Regions from separate parts of the Homo sapiens genome. Here all the other regions are linked to region 2. The links are contacts of gene promoters, found by promoter capture Hi-C in blood cells and fetal thymus (Javierre and others, 2016). All regions are on one chromosome and are shown on one strand. The core of a region is centred on a gene start or on the middle of the fragment in contact, and the rest is flanking DNA. Distances in the headings are between cores, read along the strand shown. Region 1 has its middle 81 kb from the start of LINC02890. Region 2 holds the start of ZP2 (zona pellucida glycoprotein 2). Region 3 has its middle 29 kb from the start of LINC02890.

The links. The method cuts DNA at HindIII sites, captures the fragments that hold promoters and counts their contacts. A CHiCAGO score of 5 or more calls a contact.
Region 1: a contact is called between a fragment that was not itself captured here and the fragment with the promoter of ZP2 in region 2, in 13 of 17 cell types (total B cells, naive B cells, total CD8 T cells and 10 more). The highest score is 14.8, in total B cells.
Region 3: a fragment that was not itself captured here is called in contact with the fragment with the promoter of ZP2 in region 2 in 5 of 17 cell types (total CD8 T cells, total CD4 T cells, naive CD4 T cells and 2 more); the score reaches 11.8 in total CD8 T cells.

What each region holds. Positions count from the first base shown.
Region 1 is chr16:22,693,389-22,696,476 of GRCh38, forward strand. No RefSeq gene overlaps it. Among named protein-coding and RNA genes, the nearest start is that of LINC02890, 81 kb to the left of the region's middle. The HindIII fragment of the contact is 1,092 bases long and covers 747-1,838 here.
Region 2 is chr16:21,209,618-21,213,011 of GRCh38, forward strand. It overlaps ZP2 (zona pellucida glycoprotein 2), which reads right to left and starts at 1,957. Exons shown (of 19, transcript NM_001376232.1): 1 at 1,869-1,957; 2 at 1,690-1,778; 3 at 492-575; 4 at 14-108. The coding sequence starts at 1,930. The HindIII fragment of the contact is 1,261 bases long and covers 1,462-2,722 here.
Region 3 is chr16:22,641,538-22,644,472 of GRCh38, forward strand. No RefSeq gene overlaps it. Among named protein-coding and RNA genes, the nearest start is that of LINC02890, 29 kb to the left of the region's middle. The HindIII fragment of the contact is 3,044 bases long and covers 1-2,861 here.

The sequences.
Region 1 (3,088 bases), core at 43-2,542, 1.5 Mb after region 2:
TGTTTTAAGAAATGATGATGATGATTTTTTTTTTTTGAGATAGGTTCTCTCTCTGTCACCCAGGCTGGGGTGCAGTGCCATGAACATGACTCACTGCAGCCTGGACCTTCTGGACTTAAGTGGCCTCCTGAGTAGCTGGGACCACACGTGAATGCCACCATGCTTGGGTAATTTTTAAAATTTTTGTAAAGAGAGGGTCTCACCATGTTGCCCAGGCTGATCTTGAACTCCTGGGCTCAAGGAATCCTCCTGCCTTGGGCTCCCTAAGAGTTGGGATTACAGGTGTGAGCCACCGTGTCTGGCCAAAGTAATGATTATTGAATGTATCATAGGTATCTAGGTAAGAGAGTGACCATACGAAAAAATGGAAGAAGCATGACTGGTTATATGCTCAGTTCTCTGAATCACCCCCTCCGACTCAAGTTCCTCATTTCTAGATTTTTTCCTTCCTATAAATTAGCTTGATCTTTCCCTGGTATGACTCCTACAACTCTGCCCCGGCCTCCAAGTCTAAGTGAGCTCTCCCTATTGTGCTCAAATCCTGTCCTTTTCCCACACCAGATCATTTTAACCCTTGCCATTCTTCAAGCCAACAATTCTCCCAACAATTTATTTCTTCCGCTCCCACCACTCCAGTGCTCAGTCAGTGAGTGATTCTGGGAAGAGTGGTCTGGCTGGGTTGGATGGCCAGGTCTATTTCAAGTTCATCTCAGCTGTCTGGTCATTTTTTATTTAAAAAAAAAAAAAGCTTTGGGAAGTAGTCTATTTAAACACACGTAAGCAGCTGTTCCTCCCTTTCCACCTGCTTTCATCCCTTTCTCAGCAGATGGGATCATCATCTATTTTATTGAAATAACAATAATACCCCCAAGTTTTGTTTTGTTTCATTTTGTTTTTATGAGACGGACTCTTACTCTGTCTCCCAGGCTGAAGTGCAGTGGCACGATCTTGGCTCACTGCAACCTCTGCCTCCTGGGTTCAAACGATTCTCCTGGCTCAGCCTCCTGAGTAGCTGGGATTACAGATTTGCGCCACCATGCCTGGCTAATTTTTGTATTTTTAGTAGAGATGGGGTTTCACCATGTTGCCCAGGCTGGTCTTGAACTCCCGACCTTAAGTGATCCACCAGCCTTGGCCTCCCAAAGTGCTGGGATTACAGGCATGAGCCACTGTGCCCCGCAAATACCCCCAAGTTTACTGACCTCTTAACTATGTTAGATGCCAATCTAAGCCCCTTTAATGGATTATCTCCATTGTCACAATAACTCCTACGAAGATAGTACTGGGACTATCCTATTTTACATATAAGGAAAGTTAGGCTCAGAGATATGGAATGATTGACAAATGTCCAACAGTAGAGCTGAGATGTGAATCCATGTTAACCTGATCCCCAAATTGAAGCTCTTACCCACTTTTACTGAAAAGCCGTTTGGATTCTTTAGTCCACCTACTTTCTATCTCTGCTTAATGGGCTGCAAGATGCCCATTTCACTGAACTTGTTTCTCCTAAGGACCTGCAGGCTGCTTTGCTGAATGCTCCTCCTCCGCCTTGATCCTGCTTTGGCATTCCAAACTGCTGGGTTTGTGATCCTTTTTGGATCTCTTCACTAGTTTATGGGGCTCTGCATGCTCTTGGCTCTCCAACAACCACTAGAACTTCTTACTGACCGGCTGTTTTCATTCCATCCCTTAAATGTCAGCATGTTCTGAGGTTCTGTCTCAGCCTTCCTTGCAGGCTACACATTCTCCCTGGGTGACCTCATGTCCTCTCGTAGCTCCAGAATCGTTGCTTCTTAAATAATCTCTCTGTTAATTTTTTAGTCCCTGCTTTTATTTGAAGCTTCTGATCTGCCTTTCTAACCAGTGGGTGTTCTGGGAGTGCTTCAAAATCAGCTTGACTCAACTCAATGTCATCTTTCCCGAAATACTCTCTTCACCCGTGTTCCTTAGCCTAGTAGTAAAAACAGTCTACCCAGTCTGGACTTTAGTTAACAAATTCTGTTTATTTCTCCAAAGCAGTACCAGCGATTATTCCTCTGGAAAGACCTCTGTCTCAGCTCAATTTTCCTCTACCATTTGACTGGACTATTGCAATAATTTCCTAAGGGTCTCTCTGTCTTCAGAATCCTCACTGCTATCCATCTCCAAAGACATAGACCTATTTATGTTATTTGGCATCTTGAATTTTTCCTGCTATATATTTCATAAATACCAGATTTCTTGGACTAGCATTCCATGACCTTCTCATATTGCCCACACTGACTTTGCTAAGTTTATTTAATTATTAAAAGTACTATGTGGGGCTGGGCGCAGTGGCTCACTCCTATAATACCAGCACTTTGGGAGGCTGACGCTGGAGGATTACTGGAGCCAGGAGTTTGAGACCAGCCTGGGCAATATGGAGAAACCTTGTCTCTACGAAGAAAAATGCAAAAATTAGCTGGATGCGGTGGCACGCCTGTAGTCCCAGCTACTTAGGAGGCTGAGGTGGGAGGATCGCTTGAGCCCAGGATATGGAGGATGCAGTGAGCTGTGACTGCACCACTGCACTACAGCCTGGGCAACAGAGCGAGATCCTGTATCAAAGTCCCAGCTACTTAGGAGGCTGAGGTGGGAGGATCGCTTGAGCCCAGGATATGGAGGATGCAGTGAGCTGTGACTGCACCACTGCACTACAGCCTGGGCAACAGAGCGAGATCCTGTATCAAAAAAATAAATAAATAAAATAAAAAGTACTATGTGATAATTACTGATAGAAAAGCTCTTCATTTTTATAGGTTTATCTTACAACCATACAGCATCTGAAATTTCTACTTTAAGTGGTAGATATAATGGATCACAGTGATAGATTCTCCTGCATCAGCCTCCCAAGTAGCTGGAATTACAGGTGCCCACCATGATGCCCAGCTATGATGTTAAGCCATTCTTGTGCTCCTAATATAAGTGTATTATTCTTTTGATGAACTGATGAGCTTAATTTTCTAATATTTATTTACAAATGTGTATCTGTATTCATAAATGAATTTGTCTGTGGCTTTCTGTTTTTGTGCTTTCTTCATCAGGCTTAACTAATAAGGTGATTCTAATT
Region 2 (3,394 bases), core at 707-3,206:
AGCAATGACTTACCACTCTCCTGGTACAGTTATCATAGGTAGCCCTCAGGGTGAGCTTTTCTGGGTCCAGGATGTAAGTGCAGTTCGGCATGTCGAGACCAAGAGGATCTGCCAAGGCCAGAGCAGGTTAGACAGGATGGCTGAGTACATTTCAGTGACAGTCCAAAGCTATAGAGTCAAGACCACCAGTCCATTTCTAAGGTACTTCAGTCCCTTCACTTCCGCCCCAACTCAGTGATAGAACTTGAGCTTTGAGATGGTATGACTTGCAGCCAGAGGCTTCCCAGAGATGCTGGCATAAGACACACTTTCGAAGACAGACAGGTCTTCCATGCTGGGTGGCTTCATGCAAATCAGGTATCCCCATGGCATCATGGGAGTTGGATGCCGTTGCTGCAGGAGTTTGGGTACTCTGCTCCCCAAACAGGATTGACCTAAGCCAAAGGCTGTCTGCTAATCAGGACTATGAGGAGATAACACACGTTACCTACCCACCACAGATGCATGCCATTTCTTGGTGCCAGGACTGCTTGGGAACTCCACTGTTATTTCCCTTTCATCGCAAGTGACAGTGCCTAAGGAGCAAAGGAAGCATTTGGGGGCTTTGAGTCATGAGTGATGCAACTCCTACAAAAGTGTATAGACTCCTCTCAGATGGGAGGGATTCCAGATGAGGGAGGCAAGAATCGTCCCCTACCCTGGGAGAGCTCACAAACAAGTGACCAAGACAACAATACAATATGCCAAGAACTGTAAGGAAAATATCAGGTACCCAGGGCTTTTGAAGTGTTCCAGTAAGAAGCCCAGGTTAGGGTTGACAAGCAGGTCTGTAGGAGCCAGGTCAACACCTTGACAGTGGAGCAGATGGAGGCAGGCCCGAAAAACTGACAAAAGCTTTGTCAACAGGTTTTGCAAATTGATGTTAAACAAAGTCCTGGGTAAGTCCCAGGACTTTTATTTATTTATTTATTTATTTTGAGACGGAGTCTCTCTGTCACCCAGGCTGGAGTGCAGTGGCACGATCTCAACCCACCTCAACCTCCGCCTCCCAGGTTCAAGCGATTCTCCTGCCTCAGCCTCCCAAGTAGCTGGGATTACATGTGCCCACCACCACACCCAGCTAGTTTTTGTATTTTTGGTAGAGATGGGGTTTCACCACATTGGCCAGGCTGGTCTCAAACTCCTGAGCTCAGGTGATCTGCCCGCCTTGGCTTCCCAAAGTTCTGGGATTACAGGCGTGAGCCCCGGCGCCTGGCTGCATTTTTTTTTTTTTTTTTAAAGATCAAGTTTTGCCCATCATCTGCTACTCTGCAGCCTCTGGCTCAGGTGAACGTCAAGTGAGCAGCTCCAGTTTTGCTTGTTATGTCGATGTTTTCCTTAAGCATGAGTTTGTGTTTGAAGATTGCTGCTCCTAAAGATGAGGGCTTAGTGTGGTGGTTTGCTGTTCTGTGGATACCATAAAGCTTGAGGCAGTGAGGGATTGGAAGGCAGTGCAAGTGTTTGAGTTTTCATTTAGCAGGTATAGTGAGTCTACAGGTTAGCAGAAGAAAGATCCAGTAACCTGACCAAGGTAATAAAGGGGGTGAATGGAGGTTGTCTGAGCCAGGCCTGTGTTTCTTGGCCAGCTAGGCCTTCCAGCTGCAACCTGTTTTCTCTGCTAAGAAGACTTCTGTCACCCAAGAGACATACCTGGAAAGGCAGGATTTACCAACTGAGAAACATCTATGGAGTTCCCTGAAGTCACAAGGGCGAAGAAGAGAGAAATCGACCTGTAGGTGCTGGAAAGAGACAGGGAGATAGTCAAGGAAGAATGGACTTTAACAAACAAAGCTACCATACCCCCTCCCTCCACTTCCAGAATTACTCACCTCCAGCCTGCATTGAACCAGCCTGAGGGACTCCAAGAGCCTCCTCTCTGCCTGCACGCCATAGCAGAAGACACTACCAGATCAACCAGGTAGAGGGTAGGCTGCTCTGTGTTTTTATAGCAGGAAGCCAGCCGCATCCACACCCTCTCCCCATTGGGGGCACCTGAATCTTGTCCCATTCTCCCAGCTGAAACGGAAGGATTGGGGAAGGAAGTGGCCTCTGATTCCTGACAGCTTGCGCCGGGTATTCTGCCAGCTGCCCTGTGGGCCAGGCATGAAATCAGAGTTTGCTGAAATCAGCTCCAGGTGAGTGAATTGGTGTTTTCCCTATAACTATGGGGGAAATTAGGATCTTTTGGGCAAATTATTTACAACTGCAATGTAGAGCCAAAGAGAATCATGGGCTTTATTGAGAAAAAAACAAGTCTTGTTCACACCACTACATTTTTTTTTTTTTTTTGAGATTCAGTTTCACTCTGTCACCCAGGCTGGAGTGCACTGGTGCAATCTCGGCTCACTGCAACCTCTGCCTCCTGGGTTCAAGCAATTCTCCTGCCTCAGCCTCCTGAGTAGCTGGGATTACAGGTGCACGCCACCACACCTGGCTAATTTTTGTATTTTGAGTAAAGATTGGGTTTCACCGTGTTGGTCAGGGTGGTCTCGAACTCCTGACCTAGGTGATCCACGTGCCTCGGCCTCCCAAAGTGCTGGGATTACAGGCGTGAGCCATTGCACCTACCCTAAAACCTTTTAAGTAACATCTAGTCTTCTGGCTACTGCAGAAGTTACCCTGATAATGCACAGGAAGTGTCTTTAAAAAAATGAATGAAGCCTTGTTGACCCCCAAGTGTAAAAGCTTAAGCTTACCGCAAAGATACAATTTCAGAAGGATACAGAGAAAAGGCAAAAGTCACTCATAATAGTGCCACTGCTAATATTTAGGTGAGTAACTTTAGACATGTTTCTACAAACACCACACACAATTTTTTTAAAACACTGGGAGGAAAGTTTAAATACTGTTTTGTAATCTGCTACTGTCACTTTATAACTATTAAACATAAAGCTCTCTGTTACCATTTTAGGGTGGCATAATATTCAATTTGAGATAAATCTGTGTTTATATAATTTCCTTAATTATGAGCATAAGGTGGCTTGTAATTTTTCATCATTATAAGCAGTAACATGATGAGCATTCTGATACATATCCTTGGGTAACCCTCAAGATAAATTCCTCAAAGTAAAACTTCTGGGTAAAAGGGAGTAGTGATCTAATAAGAATGTTATATTGTTGTAAAGCACTTGGAAGTTTCCCAGTGGGGAAACTGAGGCAAGGCAACTTGCCCCAACAATGTCAGGGACCAGGTGGAGAACTCAGATTTCCTGAGGCCTGATGGTTGTGTTTTTTCAACATCTCTCACACTCTTTGAGATAACTAGATGTCTGCAGCCCATGTTCCAAAATAGGTGGATATAAGGCTTAGACTCCATTCAAGTGGTGGGTGACACTTGCAATTATTAGGCTGGTGC
Region 3 (2,935 bases), core at 90-2,589, 1.4 Mb after region 2:
ATCTCAAAATGACACCATTGTCCTTAAAAGGTTAAATCAGCTTCCATGCTAACTTCTCTACCTTCATATGCTTGTTGGCTGCCTGTATGTCTCTGGCCTCATGCAGTCTCTCACCAGGTTTTGTTGCACTTACCAAAAACATGCCTAGATACCATCCATTTCATTTCCAATGGTTTAGCCACTGGAAATGGCCAGCTTTCATCTGGACAATTGCAAAGGACTGCAATTTACTTCCTCCTTGTTCTCTTATTTCTTCCCACACAGCCATTAGAATTATCTTTAAGAATGCAAATAGATCCAGTCACTCCTTTGCTTAGATCATTTAATGGCTTTCCCCTGCCTTCAGGATAAATATGGACTCCCTGAGATGACCTGTCAGGCCCAATATGATCCAGTATCTTTGCTTTATCTTACATCACTCTCTTCCTTGTTCTATAGTTCTTTCTCTTATTCAAAGCTGACATACTCTATCCTGACTCAGGGCCTTTTCTCACATTATTCCTTCTGCCTGGAATGATTCGTCTGTCCCCCCTACCATCCAGCTAACAACTGCTTCATTTCTTAGCTCAGATATCACTTACTCCAGGAGACCCCATGCTGGTTTAGATCTACCATGATATGTTTCTGGTGTACTCTGTACATCTTCCCAATAGCCATACTCTGTACATCTTCTCAATAGCCAGTTAACTTACTCAAAGTTTGTTTTCCCTTGTAGACTTTGTTTCATGAGGGCAGAACCTGCATCTTTCTTGTTCACCATTGTATCATCAAGAGCAATGTTTGGCACATAGCCGGTGCTTAGCAAGTATTTGTTAAATAAATAAGCAGAAGTCCAAGGACCCAGACTCGTTGGAGACTGAGATAAATACCCTAAGACACTTCATGTTTGTCCACAAGCCTGAAGTGACCTCAGAGAGGGAACGGTTACAAGTTTAAAACAGCTGCAAAGTGCAGAGAAAAGGCCAGCAGATGTTCTGACTGTTAGATGTTCCCGGTGGGTTGTGTGCTGTGTCATATGGGACTGCCAGCCAGGGCCTGCCATGTCGGGAGACCTTGGGGGAAGGAGCAGATCTCAAGCTATAGCAGATGGTAAGTGCTGTCTTTAGTCTTTAACATTTAAGGAAAAGAACTGGGAATAGACGTTCGGCTCAGTAGCAGTTATGATGCATTTAAATAAGCCTTGCAAATCATTTACAGAATGCATATGCCTCCAAAATTCTTCATTGCTCATAGATTTTGTGGGAGCTTCCTCTGGTCCATCTTTGTATCCTCAATGTACAGTAGTGTCTGTGGCATGGGGCGAACCTTCAGTGTGGGTGGGCTACCCACTGAAGGAAGGCACATACTTGAGACATATTGGCATTTGGCCGGCTGTGGGTAATTGATCATCTTCCCCAGGAGAGTCACGCCCCCTAAATGCAGAGACTGTGCCTTGTGCCTTTTTGTACTCCCTCTCCCACTTTACTCAGTTTCTTGTTCCCCTCCAGCTAATATCAGGGCAGGTGGGTGGGACACTACTCGCCCTATCTTAGTTCAGGTTGCTGTAACACAAATACCATAGATTGTGTGGCTTAAATAGCAGAAATTTCTTTCTTACAGTTCTGAGTCTGGGAAGTCCAAGATCAAGGTTCTAGATGATTTGATTTGGAGAGAGTTTTCTTCCTGGTTTGCACAGACACCTTCTTGCTGTATCTTCACATGACAGAAAGAGAGAGAGATGGGGGTGGAGTGAGGGATGAGAGAGAGAGAGAGAGAGAGAGAAAGAGAGAGAAAGGAGAGTGAACTCAAGAGTGCTCCATCTCATCTTAGAAAGGTACTAATGCTGGCCAGGCATGGTGGCTCATGCCTGTAATCCCAGAACTTTCGGAGGCTGAGGTGGGTGGATCACCTGAGGTTGGGAGTTCAAGACCAGCCTGATCAACATGGAGAAACCCTATCTCTACTAAAAATACAAAATTAGCCAGGCGTGGTGGCACACTTCTGTAATCCCAGCCACTCAGGAGGCTGAGGCAGGAGAATCGCTTGAATCTGGGAGGCAGAGGTTGCAGTGAGCCGAGATCGTGCCATTGCACTCTAGCCTGAGCAGCAAGAGTGAAACTCTGTCTCAAAATAAATAAATAAATAAACAAATAAATAAATATATAGGTACTAATCCCATCAAGAGGGCTCCACCCTCATGACCTAATTACCTCCCAGAAGCTCATCTCCAAATACAATCACATAGGGCATTAGGGTTTCAACGTATGAATTTTGGGGTGACACAAACATTCAGCCCATAGCATGCTCTATCATATTTTCCTGGAGAACCGTGGTTTTGGAACAAGGGAAGTAGGGCTTGGATATTTCAATTAGCTTCCATTTGAAAATGGGAATGAGAATACCTGCTTCATAGGATTATTGTAAAGATTAAATGAAATTGCATATTTAAAATGCCTCAGCCTATGCCCGACTCATGATAAGTAGTTAGAAAATTATGGAATTGAAGAGACAGTATGCCATGCCATTATGGTCATGGGCCTTGCAGCCATAGAGTCCTGGGCTTCATTATGGGCCCTGCCACTAGTAAGTGAACTTGACAAGTTATTTAACTTTTCTGAGCCTCAGTGTCCTCATGGGGAAAAACAGGGCTAAAAATCTGTCTAGCTCATGGAGTGGGTGTAGGATTAAATGCAATATACATATAAAATGCCTTGCCATATAGTAAATGCTCAATAAAAAGATAGTAATTGTTATTACCATCGTTATTATTGAACAGCAAGTGATAAATTGGGATATCCTGACTGTCCTAAATTGTGTCAGAAATGTGGGATCTGGTTCATATTTATAGAGACTTCTTGTTCTTTCAATTGTTCAACCTAAAAAGCTTAGAGTTGTCGTTAAATCTTCCATTTTTCTCACTTTCCACAACCTGTCCATTGGATATTCTTGTTGATTC